Linked DNA regions of Homo sapiens: all the other regions are linked to region 1. Evidence: promoter capture Hi-C in 16 types of primary human blood cells and fetal thymus (Javierre and others, 2016). All regions are on one chromosome and are shown on one strand. The core of a region is centred on a gene start or on the middle of the fragment in contact, and the rest is flanking DNA. Distances in the headings are between cores, read along the strand shown. Region 1 holds the start of NETO1 (neuropilin and tolloid like 1). Region 2 has its middle 190 kb from the start of LINC02864. Region 3 has its middle 160 kb from the start of LINC02864.

The links. The method cuts DNA at HindIII sites, captures the fragments that hold promoters and counts their contacts. A CHiCAGO score of 5 or more calls a contact.
Region 2: a contact is called between a fragment that was not itself captured here and the fragment with the promoter of NETO1 in region 1, in 2 of 17 cell types (total B cells and naive B cells). The highest score is 7.0, in total B cells.
Region 3: a contact is called between a fragment that was not itself captured here and the fragment with the promoter of NETO1 in region 1, in 1 of 17 cell types (total B cells). The highest score is 5.2, in total B cells.

Annotation. Positions count from the first base shown.
Region 1 is chr18:72,866,737-72,870,910 of GRCh38, forward strand. It overlaps NETO1 (neuropilin and tolloid like 1), which reads right to left and starts at 1,251. Exons shown (of 11, transcript NM_138966.5): 1 at 528-1,251. The coding sequence starts at 555. NETO1-DT (NETO1 divergent transcript) reads left to right here and starts at 1,652. Exons shown (of 2, transcript NR_134648.1): 1 at 1,652-1,726. The HindIII fragment of the contact is 9,933 bases long and covers 1-3,206 here.
Region 2 is chr18:73,076,904-73,081,471 of GRCh38, forward strand. No RefSeq gene overlaps it. Among named protein-coding and RNA genes, the nearest start is that of LINC02864, 190 kb to the right of the region's middle. The HindIII fragment of the contact is 1,683 bases long and covers 1,202-2,884 here.
Region 3 is chr18:73,102,949-73,107,356 of GRCh38, forward strand. No RefSeq gene overlaps it. Among named protein-coding and RNA genes, the nearest start is that of LINC02864, 160 kb to the right of the region's middle. The HindIII fragment of the contact is 748 bases long and covers 1,752-2,499 here.

The DNA.
Region 1 (4,174 bases), core at 1-2,500:
ACCACACACCCATAAAGCGACATCAGCGGTCTCCAGGGCGGAAAGGGGTGGAAGCTGACCCTCGCCCTTCCCTCCAGCGCTGGCTTCAGGTGTGCCTTCTGCTACCTCCTGTACTGCGAACAGGGGCCCGCCGAGCTCCGGGAGCCCCTAGAAGAGGAAGACTCCTCTGGCCCCACTAGGTATCATCCGCGCTCTCCCGCTTTCCACCTGCGCCCTCGCTTGGGCCAATCTCTGCCGCACGTGTCCATCCCTGAACTGCACGCTATCCTCCACCCCCGGGGGGTTCCTGCGCACTGAAAGACCGTTCTCCGGCAGGTTTTGGGATCCGGCGACGGCTGACCGCGCGCCGCCCCCACGCCCGGTTCCACGATGCTGCAATACAGAAAGTTTACGTCGGCCCCGACCCGCGCGGGACTGCAGGGTCCGCCGGAGCGCGGCGCAGAGGCTTTTCCTGCGCGTTCGGCCCCGGGAAAGGGGCGGGAGGGCTGGCTCCGGGAGCGCACGGGCGCGGCGGGGAGGGTACTCACTGTGAAGCACGCTGCGCCCATGGATCATGTCTGTGCGTTACACCAGAGGCTCCGGGCTCCACTAATTCCATTTAGAGACGGGAAGACTTCCAGTGGCGGGGGGAGGACAGGGTCGAGAGGTGTTAAAGACGCAAAGCAAGAAGGAAATAAAGGGGGGCCGAGAGGGAGACCGAGAGGAAGGGGGAGCTCCGAGCCCACGCTGCAGCCAGATCCGGATGAGTCCGTCCTCCGCCCCGGGCGGGCTCTCGCTCTCGCTGGCCCTCAGCGCCGCGCAGCCAGCAGCATCCCCACCGTGACGCTCGCATCACACCCGGGCGCCGGCCGCCACCATCCGCGCCGCCGCCGTCAGGACCCTCCTCCCGGGCATCGTCGCCGCCGCGGGGTCGGGAGGACGCGGCGCGCGGGAGGCGGCGGTCGCAGGGCGAGCCCCGGGACGCCCCGAGCCGGGGCCGGGGCCGGGGAGAGGGCGCAGCGAGGTGGGGGCCAGTCCAGACCGACGGCAGCGACGGAGCGGGCGGCGGCGGCGGCGCCGGCGGCGGCGGGGTGGCTCAGTCCCCAGTCTCAGACGCGCCGCGCAGCAGGTCGGAGCAGCCTCCCCGGGAGGATGTCCAGCGGCAGCGCTCCTCGCTCCAGCCCTTGGGGATCTTCCGCTGAGGCATTGAAGGCAGGAAGAAGGGGTCCGTCATCGGCTCGCCGGGCTGCGCGCCACCTCTGCTATCTTGCGGAAAGAGGAGCGGGTGGGTGGGCGTCTGGGAGGCGGGCTGGAGGGCGGTGCAGGGGAGCGGGGCGGCCGGGGGGGGGGCCGGGGGGCGGGGAAGGGAGGGAGGAGAAAGGAGCCGGAAGAGGGCAGAGTTACCAAATGGGCTCCTTAGTCATGGCTTGGGGCTCCACGACCCTCCTGGAAGCCCGGAGCCTGGGTGGGATAGCGAGGCTGCGCGCGGCCGGCGCCCCGGGGCTGGTGCGCGGCAGAATGGGGCCGCGGCGGCGGCAGCAAGGACATCCCAGCCGCGCGGATCTGGGGGAGGGGCGGGGAGGGGGTGAGGACCCGGCTGGGATCCGCGGCTCGGCCCGCCAGGGCGCAGAGAGAGGATGCAGCCGCAAATCCCGAGCCGGATCCTCGTGCCGGACGGAAGGCGTGGAAGCGGGAGGGGCCTTCGTGTGAAAATCCCTTGTGGGGTTTGGTGTTTCACTTTTTAAAGGTTAGACCTTGCGGGCTCTCTGCCTCCCACCCCTTCTTTTCCATCCGCGTAAAGGAACTGGGCGCCCCCTCTCCCTCCCTCCCTGGGGCGCAGGTTTCGCCGCGGACTCCGCGCTCAGCTTGGGAGACACGGCAGGGGCGCGCCCCAGGGAAAGGCGGCCGTAAAAGTTTCGCGGTTGAGCACTGGGCCTGATGTCCAGTCCCCCCACCAAATTACTCCTGCAAAGACGCGGGCTTCTTGCAATTGAGCCCCCCACCTCGAGGTATTTAAAACCACCCCAAGGCACACACGGACCCCCGTTCCCCCGCGCCACTTCCTCCTACAGGCTCGCGCGGCGCGTTAAAGTCTGGGAGACACGAGTTGCGGGGAAACAGCACCGGAAGAGCCCGGGCTTGTAAAATGCGAATCAATGAATACGAAATAAGGGCAACCGCGAGGCAGCGCCGGGAAGGGCTGGAGCGCGCGGGGGTGCAGGGAGTCCCTCCCTGGGCGCCGCAACGGCACCTCCTCCCTTTCCCGGCTCCGTCCCGCCCTCCCTCGGCCTCTGCGGACGCGACCCACGCAGACCACAGCCGAGCCCGCCGGACCCCGGGACTACGGAAGCCATCCCGTCCGGCCACCCACACCCGCGCCGCGGCTGGGGCTTGGGTTGGGGACTGTGGCGGCGAAGAAGCCGGGGTAGGAAGAGCTAATGGCAATGGCGGGGTCGCCGGGGGGCGGGGGGTCAGCAGCAGACGCTGAGCTGTGAAGACTAGGGTGGCCCCGAAAGGCCGAGGAAAGGAGAAAGGGCCATGAGAAGAGTCTGGCGAGCGCTCGAGGCCGGGGGGCTGCCTCCCGGCTCTGGCCCGGCCTCCGCTTCCCGGCACCTGCTGCTGGGGCGCCCACGTGCGCGCGGGGCTGCGCGGGGCGTTGGGTGCTCGTCGCAGTCCTGCCCACGCCTAGCGCAGCGGCTGTGAGTGGGTGGAGGTCTCCTGCCAGTAAGTTGGGATGAGGGACGATGAGGTGACCCCCAAGTCTGGAAGGGATTCAGAGTCTCACACGCGCCCCCAAGCCTCCTACCACCACACCAAAGTGCTGGTTCCTCGATTTCCAGGGTGGGGTAAAGTGACCGAGCAAAGGGGATGGTGTGTTTGTGTGTGCGCGCGCATATACGCGCGCGCGTGTTGTGCATCCGTGTAATGAAAGTTGGGTCATGGGTCAACCCGGGAGTAGAGCGAGATGGAGACCTAAAGAGAGAAAGCTGAGAGAAGGGGGAAGACATGGACAGGGTAAGAGAGAGAGAAAGGAGAGAGAGAAGAAAGGGAAAAGAGGAGCGGGGAGAGAAAAGAGAGGCAGGAGAGAGAATGAGGGGACAGAAGAGAGTAGGGAGACGAGAAGGCGGAGGACAGAAGAAATGGGGGAGAGGGAAGAGGACAGAGAGGCTGCGCGCCTCTGAATACGCCAAGTCCAGCAGAGCTGGAGGCCTGTGAGAGGAGCTGCAAGCTTGAGCAAAGGGAGAGAGGTGAGCGGATGAAGGGAGATTGGTGAGTATCCGCCCACGCACCTACTTGTAAAAAGATCAAGGGGAAACACGCAGAAGGTCCCGCGGGAGTCCTGTGACCCACGTGAGGTGCTCGTGCCAGCGCGGGGTGGGAGGTGGTGGGCAATGTTCGTCGTGGAGTTGAGGAAGAAATTCTCCAGCCTTAAGGAAGCAAAAGAGTTCAAAGATCAGTGAGGCTGCTCAACAGAGGGATATGCAGATGACAGAATGCTTGGAAAACGCTTTTGGGGATCCGGGTCATCTATAGAGGAGAGGGTGGAGGTCTTGCAAAAGGACCAGTCGCAAGAGTTGACAGTTGAATGTTGGAATCTTTCTTATGGTTGGATGGCACTTTCTTTACATCCAAAATATGCGTTATTCGTGAAGATGACACAGTTCTACAAAGAAAGTGGCAACATTTAAAATTATTTGTAGAAAGTTACTGCATTTCTCAATCACAGTTTGAAGGCAGAGAAAACTTGGTTTTACCATAAATGCTCTCATTCACCTGCCCTCTTCTGTCCTCTTTGCCCAGAACAGTTTCCCAGGACACTGGGATTTTGTAACCTGCCAAGGAAGGGGCTACGTTGCTAAACAAGTAGTCCTTTTATGGGACACAGGAAATTAGGAAGGAACTCATAAGGAAGGTGAAAGGGTCCTAACCTTTTGTCCACGCCTGTATTTGAAATCAAATATCTTGCATAAACAGTGGTCTCCATTTTTTTTCTTTTTTTAATGAATTAAAGGCTGGAGCGCAGTGACTGGATCACAGCTTGCTGCAGCCCCAACTTCCTGGGCTCAACTGAGCTTCCCACCTCAGCCTCTGGAGTAACTGGGACTACAGGCACAGGCCATCATGCCTGGCTAATTCTTTTATTTTTTATATTTTTTAGAGAGGGGGTCTAGCCATGTTACCCATGCTGTTCTCA
Region 2 (4,568 bases), core at 793-3,292, 210 kb after region 1:
TATAAAACAAGGAGGAGATCAATCGAAAGCTTTGTTGCAATGAATATTAATATATGTGTGTGTGAGTGTGTGTGTGCATGTGCACACACATACACTTTTATTACCAAAAAAAGGTTTAAACTAGATGAAAAAATGACTTGAAAGCCAACTAGAATCTGTGTGTTCCAAGGACAGGAAGGTGCCCATCTACCAGCCTCCATTTTGCTTCCTCCATTATTTGTCTTCTCCTGGAACACTGCTATCAGTATGTAAAACATGCTCCACCTTCTACTGCATTAAAGTACCCTTGACCCCACATCTCTTTTCACAATCAACCTATTTCCCTTTTCCCCTTACAGAACAATTTGTCCACACACAGATGATGTCCACTTCTTTTTTTTTAAATTCTCTCTTCATTCATCTCTGATCCAGTTGCTGAACTTTGCATTTTACAAAACCCTGTCATCAAGTTCCATTATCTCCCTGCCACTCATATCACTGCGTTTTGTTAGTTGTCTTGTTTCTCAGTCTCTCAGTACCATCTCTTACTTGAAAAGATCTTGCCTTCTGAAAGATTACATTTTGCTGTATTTCCTTTCCTTTTGAATTTCCTCCTGTATACTCCTTTTAGTCTCTTAGAAGACTGTTATCAAACCAATCTTACCAAACTCTAAATAATAGAGTCTCCAAAATTTTATTCTGAGATTTCTGCTCTTTTCTATACACATTTTTATTTAAGCAATAGTATTGCCATGCGTGGCTTTAAAGACTATGCGACGATGTGTTAACATTACCAAAATACCTGCTTGGCATTTCCAGTGCAGTGTTTAAAAGGAATCTTACCTTTAATGTATCCAAAACATAAAATTCTCTCAGTTCCACCCCTCCTAATCCCTACACACCTGACTTTTCTTGGCACCTTCATTTGAATAAGCGGTGGCCTCATTTTGCTCAACTCCTAAACCTATGAATCTAGATTCTTCCCTACATCTCTCATACCCAATTGAGTAACAAATTTTATTCCCTTTCTCTCCATCTTCAATACCACTAACTGTAGGTAAAACTACCATAACCTTTCTCACTGAGGTATGGACCTCAGTTTTGCAAGGGTCTCTCTTTGCTTTCCTTCCTGCCCATTAAAAACCATTCCTTGTATGACACCAAGTACACTTTGCATTGCAATTTTTTGTGTGTGTGCTTTCCTTTACACAAATGGAACCTAAGCTTCTCAGAGGATGCAAATCCCTACTTTGGTGTCACAATTTCATGCTCCCTTCTTTGTTCCGTGTGCTCTGGATAATTTTTCATTCTTAAAAATAGAAGAAAAAAGAAAAGGAATATACAAAAAGCATATTTATTCCTCTAAAATTAACACACAAAAACATATTTCTTCTTCTAAGATTTTGCAGTTACTATTCTTGGCCTTCCTTTTCCTAAAATCTTCTCATGACCCACTCTTCTAAGTATCTTATGTCCCAGCTCAAATTGTAGCCCTGGATGATGTATAATCTTCTTCCTCAAGTACAAATGCATGTTCTCTTTGTCTGACAAGCTATAATCTAAAAGAACAATAATTCTCACCTCTGAACCGACAATGGCAGAAAACTGGGATCTGCAAATACGATGGACTGCTAGAAGGTGGAACATGGAAAACACACATCACTCCCTTCTCCACGGCTGCTGGCATCTCACTGGACTGATATAGGGAAGACTCCTTGCTGGCATGGCAGGGAGTCTCTGTGCTTTGTCCTAACTGTGCCATTTAGCAAAACTCCCTTGTGGTTTCTGCCTGTGGCTCTGGCTGTCCATTTCAGGGGATCCTTCCTTGCCTTCACTTTCCTTGGCCACAGCACACAAGGGAACTTCAGAGGATACAGCCTTTGAACCCGTCCTCTTGGTGAGAGTTTAGGGACATGGGGATTATTTTAGGGGATTAAGAGTCATGGACAGTTGCAAACCAGGTTTAGGGGTGCTTTGGCAGTACTTAACCCTGCAAGAGTCTAGCAAGCTGTGGGTCTGATTGGTTTCAAGTATCAAATGTTATTCAGCTCATCATAACAAAACATCATATCTAGATCTAATCACATAGGTGTCTTTCATTTAGCTTCCGTGCTCTGTGGTATCACCCTCTTTCAAATTTAGGCTAGTTCCTAGTGGGTAATTGAAACAATGGGTTTAGATGAATAGGCAACACCCTTAATCTCAGTGTTGCCAGCAGGCAAACTTTCATCTCCTGCTATGGCTGCCACTTCATAGCCTGCTTCAGTGCGGGGCATAAAACAGTTGGCGCTTTACACTTTATAAGGTTCCAAGTTATGTGACTATAAGCAAACCTACATTGTAACACGTTATATTGCTTTGAAAGCCAAGTTTTGTAAGAGTAGACATTTTTCTTGTTTGTTAATTGATTTATACCAGCTGTTTAGAATAATGCCTGTATAGAGGAAGTGCAGAGTACACGTATGTTGAGTAAATGAATGAGTAAGCAAATGTATAATCCATGTAATTTATTAAAAATGCCACATATTTTTATGGATGCATTAATATGTAGTAATATTACAATATATATGCTGGGATGACAAGTAGCAGCTTTACAAGTGGCTAACCACTACGGAAGATGGAGAAAAAAAATTTGGGGAGATGGAGTTTTAGTTATGTCTATAGCTGTTTATAATTCATTGAAAAATTCATTTTTCACAGCTAATATTTCAATTCATTGAAAATAATGTTTAAAGCAAATATGGAAAATGTGAAAATATTAATATTTATTATGTGTAGATACCAGGTAACTTCACATATCTTTTCCTTTTTCTTTTTTGAGACAGTCCCATTTTAATCTTTTCATAAACAGTATTATTAAGGGTTAAATGACATAACTGTATTTATTTAAAAATGCAGTTTGATAAGCTTTTACATAGGAATACACTTGTTTCCATCATTGCCACAACAAGGATAATGAAGATTTACATTCACTCAAAAGCTTCCTGCGTTCTTTATTCCCCCTTTTTCACATATTTTGTATCAGGTTAAAATAGTTTATTATTTAAAATGTTAAATTAATTTAAAACAACAAAAACAGATTCCATAAATATGTGAAATTAAAGTGCTAGAAACCTACCTCTGCCCCCACTGAATATTTGTAAGTGGAGCTGCTCCAGTTTTATGAAGACCTCGGGTATTATTGAGGCCTCAATACCACATGGAAGTTGCAAAACTATTGTATAATGTTCTTCACTTCCTTTTTATCTATTGCTGCCTGTCTCTCTTTGGGTCATCGCCTTGTCCCTACATATGGAAGATAGCTTGAGAATCATTGCAGACTGAACTTTGCACCCAAGACTACTCTTCCTATTTGGACCCTGACTTGGTTTTCTGGAGTTAACCTTCAAAAAATTCCCATATGTTTTTACTCTTTGAGGTGTTTTAGACATGTATAGTTTCTGTATTTGACACTATGCTCAGTTTTCCCAAAATACACAACCTGAGACGAAAACTTGTAGGCAGGTATGTTATCAGGAGATGGGGAAACATGGAGTCTGGAAGGAGAGACAGTCCAGCCCAGCATACTTTGTTGAACAGCAGGCAATGGGCTCCGTGTTGCTGGGCACCTTAGGCATCAGCCCAGTGGTGTGAAATTCTCCACTCCTGCTATGAGGCTGAAGATGCTCCCCCAGACATCTCATCAATGCACAGTGGAAGCCAAGGAGATCCAGGGTGGAACCAAGAGATACACAGTGTAGGTAAGACCAGGGTCTCTAGGCCTGCAAAGGTGATTATGGCAGCACTGGCCACAGGGAAGGTGACTGCGGAGATAAACATAGTCCAGCATGGATATTCTGCTCCTTTGAGAATGTGATTATATTTTGTTTATTTCATAAACAAACATGGATTGGACACCTAGTAAATAATGATATAATTTTTTATCACCCTCTAGGGACTGGCATGTTATTTTGCCCATTATAGGCAACCGATGTTTATATTATTCTAGTTAACATCATTTCTTATTACATGAATAGCATGTCTAGATAATTTAATCTTTCTAGTGTTTATCAAAATATTAGATGATTGAGTTCAATTAAATTGTAATAATCACTTACCATCAAAAAGGAAGCATATTAGCAATAAGTAAATAGATAAATAAATTGATTATTTGAGAGACCAAAGTAATTACAACCATAAAAATACTAGTAAGAGCAAACACCAATATGAAAATTTGTGCCAAGCACTATCCTAAGATCTTATATCAGTTAAGTCACTTTATACTAATGATAATATTTAAGTTGTCTTAATGTCGCTGTTTTCAAGACGAGCAAACTGAAGTGCAGACTGTTTTGTAACTAGCATCTTATGAAAAAATAAAATGGAGTAATTTATAAGCCTTTACACCATTTTTTCTTTTCTTTTTCTTTAGAGAACAGCAGATACTGGTGCTTAAAAAGTGGACACAGGCTGGATTCATATCCTGACCTTGCCCTAGCTAGGATTCATATCCTGACTAGCTCTGCAATTTTGAATACGTTGTTATTAATTTCTTTAAAAATAGTGTTAAAATTACATGTGAATATAAATAACATATTTTATAATAAAAT
Region 3 (4,408 bases), core at 876-3,375, 240 kb after region 1:
TTTACTGTTGATTTGGGTGTTAACATGAACAGATAATTTCAAACCACTTTACTTTAGCATTGTCATTATTGAACATACGTTTCTAATTCCACAGGATGCAAAATTTCATTTGAAAGATATACAAGGCAACTATTTCTTAAAATGTACCTTAATATTGTTCAATGAGTTCATTCGAATTTTGGATTGTGTTATATACCCTTGTAGACAGCAATAAGTATAGAGTTTTGTCTCATAAAAATTAACCATAACAATATTGTTAAGATGCTTTGTAAGTTACAAAATGCTTTATTATGCGTAGCACATATACATAAATATTCTCAATAAGGTCTTTGCAATATAACCAGCTTTTCCAGATATGCGAACTAAGAGTTGCATCTATTTTATTTTTTCCAATTTATTACTTTAACGTGTATCACCTTTATTTTTGGAGCTGGATCATTTCACTTCTCAGTGCTCCCGCGTGGCTCTTCCAAATGCACCCATTGTCCAACAATTCCTGCAGTTTATTCTGTTAAAGGGGAAATAGACCTATTTCCAAAGGATGTTTTTAGAGAAAAGTTAAAAGTTTGATCAGTTGAGGGCTGCCTTTGCTCTATTCTGCCCCTCCATTTGCTATTGACAAGCAGTCTTCCATAGTGAGACAGACAATTTTGCACTCTGCAGCTATGCTTTTGATTGGGCATATTCTAGTGCAGAATTCAGAGGCGCCCCACCCTTGATCCCTAGCTTTCCGTTGTGCTTGTTCACATTCACAAGTCAGCCCCTGTTCACAAAAGCTTGGATCTCTAGGCGCTGTGGATAGCATGTGAAAAATCTGGAAAGAAAAATAATTATCCATTTTAGGCATGTCTGAATTATAAAGTTTAAGAAAGTATGTAGCAATAGATGAGTCTAAAAGAGTTATGCAGTTGTCACGTCAGGAAGTATCTTTTAAAGCCATACATAAAACTTTATACACTATTCCGTGAGAAATGGGGAAATTTGAAATGTTTTAAATAGTGCATCAACACTTTCAATTTTGGTTAATAAAGTGAACAAAAACTGCTGGGTGGAAAAAAGATTGAAAAGAGACTAAAGTATAATTTCCAGACAGGAAACTATTGCAGTAATTCATGTGAGAGATAATGATGGAGAAAGGGATATGTTTGAGCAAATGGGTAGCGCAGTTTACTGAAGCAAGGAGCACAAAAGACAAGTCAGGTATTTTTCTCAGTAAAGTGAATGTGAAGAGCCATTTTCTTGAGTCATGGACGGGAAAGTAACAAATCTCATATTCATGCAGAGTTATGAATCATGAGACTTCTAATGTAACACTTTTAAAAAAAAAACCTTCTTCGCAAGGGTAATTTGCAGTGCTTCTGAATAATTACATACAACATGTCAAGGGTTCTAATTACATATTTGGTCCTCGCAACAAGTCAATAATCTGCATTGCACATTTTATTCTGCAGGTTTTACAAATATCTTTACTTTTCCCTTGGGAAAACTGTATCTGAGGCAGGTTATTTTCCAGGCCCAAGACCACGCCTCCAAAAAACACAAAAATTTCAAACCTTGAATGCAAAATCAAGTTCTCAGATATAAAATTATGTGCTTTTCAGTCTCCAATATTGCATTGCCTCTCAAAAGCAACTGTTAAAGACTACCCAACTATTACATATTGTCTGATTCATTCAAACAGTTAAATGTTACTATTTAAAAACCATTTCTCACTGACATTAATCCAATATTTTAGTATCTTTCATTCCAAAAGCTTATATCCATTTTAATCTTTATACGAAAATATTAACTTTATCAATATTCAACAAAAATGTCTTAATTAGTACATTGTTTATATTAGCTATTACTGTTGTTCTCAGTAGAACAGAGGAGAAAAGATACATCTCAAAATGTTTCAAAAAATAGAGAAAATAATTACAAATTGTAGGACTCAGGGATAGAGTAGATAAAATTGAGAGAGAACATACAAAAGTAAATATGAATTTGATATTTCAAAATAAATAAACAAGAGATGCCATTGACAAACACAAAAACTTAGAGGAGGGATTGGTTTGACAAGTGATGCATTTGATTTTATATGTGTAGAAATATTTGAAATCTGAAGTCACAGAGTAACATTAAATGGAAAGATGAGAAGAATTAAAAATATTCGCGTGAACTACACAAAGAGGAAAAAAAGTTTTTATTGAATGAGTCAACACGAGGTATTGTGCTAATTACTCCATTTTGTTTTATCCAATTATTTACACAAAAACCCTAGGGATAGTTAGTTCTACCCCATTTTCAAAAATAATAATAATGATGGTGATAATAGAAGCAGCATTAATTACATATATAATATTCTAAGCATTGATACTGATTAATTAATAACCCAAAGAGTCTTCAGAAACAGATTTGTTTTACCCATTTTACAGATGAGGAAACTGAGGCACAGAAATTTTAGTTCTTGCCCAAGATAACCCTATTACTGAAAGTCATAAGACTCAAATCCAGTTATAAAGCTTCAATGGGTTTAACTACCTTTAAAAATAAAAATTAAATATTTTTAAAATTCTTTGTTTTTTGAGCAGTTTTAAGTTCATAGCAAAATTAAGAGAATGGTACAAACATTTCCCACATGCCCTTCGCCCCAACACATGTGGAGCCTCCTCCATTATCAACATCCCCTACCACAGTGGTGCATTTGCTACAGTTGATGAACCTACATTGACACATCATAATCACCATAGTCTCTAGATCACATAAGGATTCAATCTGTGTACATCCATGGGTTTAAACAAATGTATAACGACTTATACCCATCATTGTGTTAAATGCAGTATTTTTACTGTCCTAAAAATCCTCTGCCCTCTGTCTATTCAGCCCTCTCTCTGTGACTCCCTAGCAACCACAGTTATTTTTTTTTTTTTGTATCTACACCTCTGTCTTTTCCAGAATGCCATATAGTTGGAATTATACATTATGTAGTCTTCTCAGAATGGCTTCTTTCACTTAGTAATATGCATGTAAAGTCCCTCCATATCTTTTTATTACTTGATATTTCATTTCTTTTTAGTGCTGAATAATATTTCATTTCCTGAATGCACCACAGATTATCCATTTAACCGCTCAAGGACATATCGGTTGCTTCCCAGTTTTGGAAATCATGAATAGATCTGCCATAAACATCTGTGTATACACTTTCGTTTGGACATAAGCTTTTAAATCAAGTGAGTAAATATCAAGAACTGAGATTTCTGAACTGTATGGCCAAAGCATGCTTAGTTTTTTAAGAAACTGCCACATAGTACCAAAGGGACTGTACCACTATGTGTCTCCGCCAACAATAAATGCAGTTTATGTTGTTACACACTCTCATCAGCATTTGGTTCTAAATTTTGGCAATTCTGATAGATGTGTAATGGTATCTCAATGTTGTTTTAATTTGCATTTCCCTAGTGACATAAGATGTGGTACATCTTTTCCTATCCTTATTTTCCATGTGTATATTTTCTTTGGTGAGATATCTGTTGAATAGTTTGGCCAATTTTTTTTTTTTTAAATGAGACAGAGTATCACTCTTGTTGCCCAGGCTGGAGTGCAATCAGGTGATCTCAGCTCACCGCAACCTCCGCCTCCCGAGTTCAAGTGATTCTCCTGCCTCAGCCTCCCGAGTATCTGGGATTATAGGCATGTGCCACCACGCCAGGCTAATTTTGTATTTTTAGTAGAGACGGGGATTCTCCATGTTGGTCAGTCAGTTTGACCCATTTTTAAATCATGTTGTTCATTTTATTATAAACAAGTTTTAAGAGCTTTTGGAGACATGGATAGCAATACTTCAAATGATCTTATGAAAATATTTTCTCCAAGTAGGTAGTTTTTTTTTTATTTCTGTTGACATTGCCTTTCACAAAGCAAACATTTTTAATTTTGATGAAGTCTAGCTTATCATGTTACCTTGATAACCAATACCTTTTGGTATTGTATCTAAAATGACATCAGTATACCCAAAGTCAGTTAGAATTTTTTCTGTTGTTATCTTGTAGAAGTTACATAGTTTTGTGTTTTACACATAGGACTAAGATCCATTTTGAATTAATTTTTTGAATGGTCTCTATCTAGATTTATTTTATTTCCTTGTGGATATTTAGTTGTTCCAGCACCAGTTGTTGAAAAGATTGTCTTTGCTCCATTAAGTTTCCTTTGCTTTCTTGTCAAAGATGAGTGGACTATATTCACGTGGTTCTATTTCTGGGCTCTCTACTCTGTTCCATTGACTTACTTGCCTATTCTTTCACCAATAGCACACAATCTTGATTAGTGCAGTTTTATAGTAGATCTTGAAGATGAGTACTGTCAGCCTCTAACTTTGTTCTTTTCCTGTATTGAGTTGACTATTTCGTATCTTTTGTCTCTTTACACAAAC